Linked DNA regions of Homo sapiens: all the other regions are linked to region 2. The links are contacts of gene promoters, found by promoter capture Hi-C in blood cells and fetal thymus (Javierre and others, 2016). All regions are on one chromosome and are shown on one strand. Each heading gives the region's core, a stretch centred on a gene start or on the middle of the fragment in contact. The rest is flanking DNA. Distances are from core to core; before and after follow the strand shown.

Region 1 (2,700 bases), core at 30-2,529, 8.8 Mb after region 2:
AGTACAAAATTTGCCGAGCGTGGTGGCACATGCCTGTAATCCCAGCTACTCAGGAGGCTGAGGCGGGAGAATCGCTTGAATCTGGGAGGCGGAAGTTGCGGTGAGCGGAGATCGCGCTGTTGCACTCCAGCATGGGTAACAAGAGCGAAACTCTTTAAAAAAAAAAAAAAAACAAAAACCCAAACAAAAACAAACCAAAAACAACAGCAAAAAAACCTGTTATTAGAACTTACGTGTATGTAGTTATTGCATGACTTGTGGAATGTGGATTGAATTATAGTAGATCCAAATCAGTATAGTCAGTTTTATGATTGCATTCTGTTACAGGAAGAGAATTTAAAATTGTGTAACATAATAAGCTATTTTAAATAGTTAAACACATCACCATCCAGTACTTAGTTTCAGTTTATTTGACCTGTTTTCCCTCTATGAAACTTTGTTGCATATAGCATGTCTTTGGAGTTTTTGTGTCTTCCTAAAGATAGGTGTTAGCATTTTCATATTACTAGGCAGAATACGTGGTGGTGCAAATATATTACAAAAAACCTTTTTCCTTTGTCTGAAAACAGCTTCTGAAATATAAAACAGCAACTGGAAATGTTAAAAATGAAGGTAGTGTGCCACCACATTATTAGTGAAGCTATAGATTTGGCGTTTAGAATATGACCAATATTTAAAATTATACCTTGGGTGAATTTTTCCTTTTTAACAAGATAAATTAGCAGATAAGCTTTAACTTGACTGAAAATTATCTTTTTAAAAATAATGTGATATATTTCATGAGGTTGTTAATTCATTTCTTGTCTGTCACTTCTTACCAGCATAAATCTTTTCTGGGGGTGGTAGTCAGCTAGTGTTGAAAGCAACATAAGAGATGTATGGGGCATTTTATAACTTTCAGATAGGGCAAATTCTTAACTGTACGCCATGAAAAACAACTGTCTATTAAATGGAAGGTCTTGACTTTGAAGAATGTTTTATTAGGTAATTAGAGAGAAAAGTAAAACTGTATTTTGCCTATCTGAATGGTCCATCCATCACATATCTAGATATCCCATTATGTTTCCAGAGATACCAATTATGTTTTTAATGCTAAATTATAGAACTCTTAAAGAGTGACCTTTAAAGTGATCTTAAAGAGGGATCAGAAGGGCAAAGGAGGACTACCAAAATGTAATTGTAATTTCCAATAATACTTATATCTAAATGCAAACTCTTCCAAATTCTGAAAGATATGTATTTAATCACTTAATTTTGGAATTAGTTTTAGTTTCTTGATTATTTTATATTGACGTAGAACTTGCCATGATGAAGCTAATAAACTTGCATGTACTGGTAGATCCAGTGTAGAATTCTGTTTTTGGTAGAAATCATTAACACAGTGAACTCAGCATTTCTTTGTTACAGGCAACCTTAATGGAGAATTGATATTCGAAGCTCTTAATCTGAAGATGCTAGCCTCATGTTAATACTTAGTCTAATTTTGAAATACTTACGTTTGTTGAATATCATCTGTTTGTTTGAATAGCTTATTTAGGTATCAATTAGAAAGTTTTGTTAGGTCTTACCTTATTAATGGTAGTTACAATAAAGTTTTAAAATTTAATTGCCAAATGTTTTGATTGTTGTTCTTTTTCTTCTTCTGCTACTACATGATTTTAGACATTCTAGAACTTATTTAAGTATATTTGGTTGTTCAGAACATGCCATCTGATCTGAATTTCTTGGAGGATTCCAGGTAAAGGGATATAATCATTCTAAGAAATTTTAGTCTTGGTGGTTGAGTCTTTTTTCCTCGCAAAGTTGCTCCAAATTCAGCCAAAGCTTTATCTGAAACCTTTTCTTGATGTCTCAGTTTTCATTTAGCATTTAATTTCCCATTTCGACCTGTATTCATAAGCTAAGTATAAGTCTTAGTCTGTTTTCCTGGGAAGAGAAACATTCTTCACAAAATGTTGAAGCAATGTCAGGAGGTTGTATAGGCTACTACTTTGTTTGTTAAAAAAAATTATTCTGTAATGCTCTAACGTTTAGGTAGGGTGAGTGCTGTCAATATACTTGTGCTTTTTTCCTACTGTAAGTGCGGCAACTCCTGTTGTCTTTTTTTTTTTTAACATTTCCTGTTTCCTTTTCTTTTAAATGCATGTTTCTACAAGATAAAACTGTGTTGTCCCAGTATTCATTTTTGTGGGTTATGTTTCTGTTCTACAAATGATAATAGAGGTAGCACTTTATTTAACTACATTTAACCTTTTTGTTGTCTTGTTTTAAAGAATTAAGTGAAGCGTAAATGAACATCAGCCTTCTATATATGAAAGCCACATTTGAGATGTGAGCATAATCAAGTAGTTTAAGCTTGTGACTCTGTTTCCTTTTTACTGGAAAATGGGAACAAGTAAGATGAAAAGCCGTATACTCATGTTAAGAAGTATTCACAAAATACCTTTTAAGTCCTTGAAGGAACTTCAGACATTTTATTCAGTTTTCCATACATCTTTTGACAGAAAGTAGATTCTGTCCTCATTCTCAGGGACCTGAGACAGCATCTCCATAATAGCACTAAACTATTTTAAAAGTAGAAAAAATGAATGCCTGGCGTGGTGGCATGTAAGGTGGTGTGCACTGTGGCACACACCTGTAATCCCAGCTACTTGGGCAACTGAGGCAGGAGGAAGGATTGCCTGAGCCCAGGAGAGCTCT
Region 2 (2,700 bases), core at 181-2,680:
AAATAAACGATTGGGGCATTTATGAAAGATAAAACCCCCAAGAAGGCAGCTGGTGAGTATGAATGTATTTATTTAGCCTGTAGCGAGTGGACTTATTCATCGACTAAGATCAATTTTGAAAGGACCCATTTCGCCTCACCTGTCTGGGAAGTGTCTATGAGCGTCCCGCTGTGAACCACACTGCCTTTCTCACTGGCACTTCAGTTCCTGAAGAGCCAGAAACTTTGCACCCCTACCCCAACCCCGCCTCTGGGGATGTGTGCCTGCTTCGTTTGTTTTCGCTTTTGTAAAATCTGAGCGTTATGATTTGTCCCCCTTTCCCTTCCTAATGAAATGACAAAGGGTCTGTGCAGCGGGGGCTGGGCTGCTGGGTTTGGGGGCGAGGCGCCACACCCCCTGAGAATAAAGCCCGCGCTGCGCTCTCGGAGAACCAGGCACGAGTGAGCGAACCACACAAAGAATATATTTCGCGACGAAACAGCGCCCTACAGGAAGAAAGTGCCCGCACTCCGAGCGTGAGCCGCAGCGCGACTTTTTGGCGCTCTTTGGGAGCAGTGAGAGAGAGGCGGAGGCCAGAGAGTCCGGGGTGGGCGCGGGAGCCGGGGCGGCCCTTGGCCGCATTCCCGCCCGTCCCGCAGCGGCGCGCGGAGCCAGGTGAGGTTGGCGGCGGCGCCGCGCTACCTGGCCGGGCGGGGCGGGGCCGGGCGGCCGCGTGCGCCGCTTCCGAGTCCGGCGCTCCGGATGCCCGCCCGCGCTCCGCTGGCCCGCGGAGTTTCGCGGGAGTTTCCGTTTTGGCGCCTAAAGCCCCTCGCTGGCGCCGTTTCCCTCCGCGTGCCGCGTCTGTCCGGCGCGGGACGCACGGAGGCGCGGCCCCAGCCCGGGCTGCCTGGGGTCGGCGGGGCTGCGCGAGGGGACGTCTGGCGTCCGGCGGAGGGCACTGGCCCGGGAGGAGGGCACGCCTTTGGCAAAGGCCGGGCGGGGTTGGGACCGGGGTTGCTATGGTAGCTGCGAGCCCGGGCGGGAGCCCCACGCCCGGCCTCCGCGAGGGAGCTGGGGCGCTCCGAGGTGTGCTCCGAGTGGACTGAACCAAGAGCCTGGGAGGAGCGGGTAGGGCCGGCCCGTGGCCTTGTCCCCTCCTCCCACAGCCCGCCGGCCGGCCCCGGGAAGGGGCCTCGAGGAGCCCAGAAAAGAAAGTATTCTGGCCCCTGGAACCGAAAGGAGTCTTGCAAAAAGCACGAAGGGGTCAAGGGGGCCGAAGGGAGAGGGGGAACCGTCGCCTCCGTCCGAGAGTCAGCGTGCGCGTGTCTGTAGACTTGACATTTTATACCCCAGAGCGGCCGACTTGGAGCCGGGTTGCAAGTCCCAGCCCTGAAGTTCTGGAGGTGGGGCGGGCTTTAATTTGCTTATATCTAATGATTTCAGGAACCTCGCTTTAAAATGGCGGCATTCAGTATGCACCCCTGCTAAAGGCTCTCCCGGCACCGGGGCCACCTCGCGCAGCGCTGCTTTTGCTTCTGCCGCTAACAGATGGCATGTGCCGCTGTCGCTGCCGCTGCCCCTGCTGCTGCCGCTGAGAGCAGGGCCCCTTAGCCTCTGGGTTTGCGCTAGCAGCGTAAGGTAAGGCTGGAGATGAATTGGGATTTGTAAGAGAGGCTGCCTTCCTCGGACGCCGAGGAAATAATGCCTTTTAAACTTCATTTTACAAAATAGCAAATAGGAGGAAAAGTCATCCTGCAACTTTGTTGCGATTTTAGAGCTTTGATCATTTTCCTCCTCCTTTCCTCCTCCTCCTTTTTCTTCTTCCTTCTCTTCCTCCTCTTCTCTTCCTCCTCCCCTTCCTTCCTTCTTTCTTTTTTTCTACTTTCTTCTTTTTAATTTAAAGGAACTTCTTGCATGGCATATAATCAGCAAATGCTTTTTAACAACGAATTTCCCCATTTTCACGCGATATCGTGAGCAGTGCCACAGCTTCCTTGCAGAACCTTGTCTCTTCCTGCCCTGAGTCAACACGTTTGGGCAGCTCGCTTTTACTACTGGGGTTTGAAGGGCATGAGAGTAGATTTTAGGAGACTATTAAAAAGGGAACTTTAGTTTTTAACACTCACACAATAAGCTTTTATGGTAAGAAAACGAAATTAAACCCAGACGAGTAATGAAAGTTGACATTTAAGTGATTCTTTGTTGTGGTTTCATAATTAGGGTAATAGACCTACTGTGTGTTTTTCTGAGCACTCTTAGATAGCTAGCTAGCTAGCTAGCTAGCTAGATGATAGATAAAACAGATAAATTAATTGTGGCTCTAATTAAAGTAATATGTTTTAAAGGAGTTATTTTCTCCTAGATGTTCTTACATCGTTTGTAAATTGAGCTGGGATCCCCACAGCCTCTCCGTATTTGTGGGTAGACTTCATGGGAAAGAATCAATTAAAACAAAACTTGCAAGATTTAATTTTGAAGTGATTGGTACTTTTTTTATTAAGCGGACTCCCTGCTTTAGTGAATAAACGTTTGGGTGATTACTGATATAATGTTTGGAAAACAGATTGTTGGTATGTGGGAATGACTAAACATCCATGCTTGATACAATTTATCTGAATTTTGTTTTGTTTTGTTTCCCCCTCCAGTGAAAGGTAAATAGACAATGAGGCTTATCAGACACCTTGGATTTTTCCTGATTATATTTCCATCTTCTCCTTGGCC
Region 3 (2,700 bases), core at 66-2,565, 8.1 Mb after region 2:
AAAGGCCCATTTGGTAAGATGATAGACGTCAAATGTTCCCAAAAGCTGCCGATCACACCTCCCCCAGACCTTTTAGCTGGAAAGAAAAAAAAATCAGAAAAGGATAGACCTATCTTTGGAGAATAATCAGTGATTTTTTTTCATGCAACGTCAGGATCCTTTTTAAGGTGAGGGAGGCAAACTTTTGGGAAACATGATACCCTGCTCAGCCTGAGCAGGCAAGGGATTTGTTACCTCTGAGCCATCCTTCACCAGCTCCATTAAGTGAAATAAGTCACATTAACATCCTGAAATTTCATTTATTTAAAAAATCCATTTCCCTCCAACCTGAGTTGTGTTTGACTCATCTTCCTTCCTTGCAAGGCACTTTTGCATCTAGTCCATGTATCTGCTTATCTGCTGCATCAATCTGTCCCCATAAATACATTTCCCTGGACAATAGAGAAATTAGAGTGCAGATAACAATAGAGGCAATTGTAAAAAGAATTGGGCATTTACCAAAAGCATACTGGTTTAGGAACTACATCCAGTTTGTACCTTGCTATGTCCATGGATAACAATGCTGTCATATGAGATGTATCCCAGCTTTGGATCCCAGAGCTGTTTATAAGATTTTGTAGACTGAGTTGTAAGGTTATAGCAAAATCCCTGAACTGCAGCCTCCTTTATTAAAAGAAAAACAATGGAGGGGGCTTAGCACTTTATGACCAAAATTATAAAATCAGGTAGGATTATTATGTGTTTACAAATGAAATGAAGCAAGGACTTATCTAAAACTCTCCCAATTTACTTTTTTCCTCTACTCAAACATAACTGAGAATAGGGTAGGTTGGTTTTTAAATGAAACGTGAGTGTTCAGATGTGAGCTGAGAAGGAGAAACAAGCTCGGTTGAACACAGGGTCTCAGGCTGACAAATGATGGGGAATTGGTGGGGGCAGCCAAGAGGGCTCTGGCCTTTCCCTCTATTCTGAGAAATTGCCTTGGTCCTCAGCTACAGGGTGCTCAGAGTTGGATTTTCATTCACTTGACACTATTTTAACTTCCTTCTCCTCAGGTTTGGTGGAAGCATTTATTTTGTGAAAATTTAGATAAGGAGCCTGACTGGAGATATATTAATCAGATTAATCTATTTAAAAATATATCTGCAGTTTTCAGTCAAGTAACAGTGCTTTTCCCCCTAAGGAGCCCCCTGGAGACAGGAGATTTCCTATATCAAGGCTACTGGGCAGTATTGATTTTTGGGGTCCAGGAATTCTTGGGGCTTCCAAATCATAGAACCTGCTATATTTGGTTGTGTTTTTGTTTTTTTGTTTTTTGTCTCCCAGAGTGGAATGCAGTGGCACGATCTTGGCTCACTGCAGCCTCTAACTCCCGGGCTCAAGCGAATCTCCCACCTCAGTCTCCTGAGTAGCTGGGACTACAGGCGCATGCCACCGTGCTCGGCTAATTTTTGTTTTTGTTTCTTTGTAAAGACAGGGTCTTGCCATGTTGCCCAGGCTGGTCTTGAACTCCTGGACTCAAGCCATCCGCCCACCTCAGCCTCCTAAAGTGCTGGGACTTCAGGCACGAGTCACCGTGCCTAGCCTATTTTTGTTAATCTTGGATCAACCTCACTAAGATAACTAGAAAGAAAGAATTATTTCATATACCATTTCACCTGTATATGAGCATTAATGATTTGGTATAAAAAAATTTTAAATATCTGTTGTATGGTTACACAGATGAATTGGTCAACAGCAAAGTACTTAAGCAAGGGCAAATTAGCATAGTGCAAAAAATGTCCAAGGTAAATAATATAGCCAAAGTTGGGTGAGAAAAATGAGTATGATTTTGAGGAAGAACTGGTATGCCCATAATTTTGCACTTTTCTCATCTATAAAAAGAGGGACATGGATGGTGCAATATATTATTAGTGGTAGTATTAACCATAACAGCAGCAATTAGCATTCCTTGAAGCCTTACCATGTATACTGCCACATATTAACTCATTTACTATTTATAACACCTTACCAGATGGGTTTATCATTATCATTCCCATTTTACAGATGAAGAAACTGAGGCACAGAGAGGTCACACAGCTAGTAAGCAGTGATCACAGGATTTGAATTCAGGCAGTCTGGCTCAAAAGCCCATTTCCTAAGATCCCCTCTGTTGATAAGGTTCTATATGCTGGCAAAGTAAAGGGAGTGTCTTGGGAGTAAAAAACATTATATTATTGAATCAAATTCTTCAAAAGAATTAGAAACAACTAGTTGTATGTGATTGTAAATTACAGTGGGTAGTCGGATAAGAGTGAACAGAAGGGTTCCTTCTAACTCAAGCAGTTTTGTGTCAAAGGTTATTATGATGTCATGTAAACTTTTCTAGAAATCTATCACTATGTAAACAAATGATTGAAAATCCTGCATGGGGGACAAAACAGTTGGTGGGGATGTTAAATTGACGTAAAGGGAAATGAGAAGTTTTGGGGGTGATGGAAATGCTATCACGATTGTGGTAGTGGTTACCTGATTCAATGACTGTCAAAACTCATTAAATTGTACGCTTAAAATTGGTGACTCCTACTGTGTGTAAACTATCCAAATAAAGTTGATTTTAAAATAATAAAGCACATATACACCAAAAAATAAAAAAAAAGAAAAAAAGAAAATCCTGCATAAATGTCATACAATGATTCTTGTTAAATATGAAATAATTTT

Evidence for each region. Contacts are between HindIII fragments. The CHiCAGO score rates a contact against its expected background, and 5 or more counts as called.
Region 1: a fragment that was not itself captured here is called in contact with the fragment with the promoter of MBNL3 in region 2 in 2 of 17 cell types (total CD8 T cells and naive CD8 T cells); the score reaches 5.8 in total CD8 T cells.
Region 3: a fragment that was not itself captured here is called in contact with the fragment with the promoter of MBNL3 in region 2 in 1 of 17 cell types (naive CD8 T cells); the score reaches 5.5 in naive CD8 T cells.

What each region holds. Positions count from the first base shown.
Region 1 is chrX:123,727,655-123,730,354 of GRCh38, reverse strand. The region is part of intron 1 of THOC2 (THO complex subunit 2); the gene reads left to right. Among named protein-coding and RNA genes, the nearest start is that of THOC2, 4.0 kb to the left of the region's middle. The HindIII fragment of the contact is 1,094 bases long and covers 733-1,826 here.
Region 2 is chrX:132,487,768-132,490,467 of GRCh38, reverse strand. It overlaps MBNL3 (muscleblind like splicing regulator 3), which reads left to right and starts at 1,430. Exons shown (of 9, transcript NM_001386889.1): 1 at 1,430-1,617. RefSeq lists a silencer at 582-1,151. The HindIII fragment of the contact is 7,236 bases long and covers 1-2,115 here.
Region 3 is chrX:124,398,571-124,401,270 of GRCh38, reverse strand. The region is part of intron 30 of TENM1 (teneurin transmembrane protein 1); the gene reads left to right. Among named protein-coding and RNA genes, the nearest start is that of SH2D1A, 53 kb to the right of the region's middle. The HindIII fragment of the contact is 3,150 bases long and covers 1-2,700 here.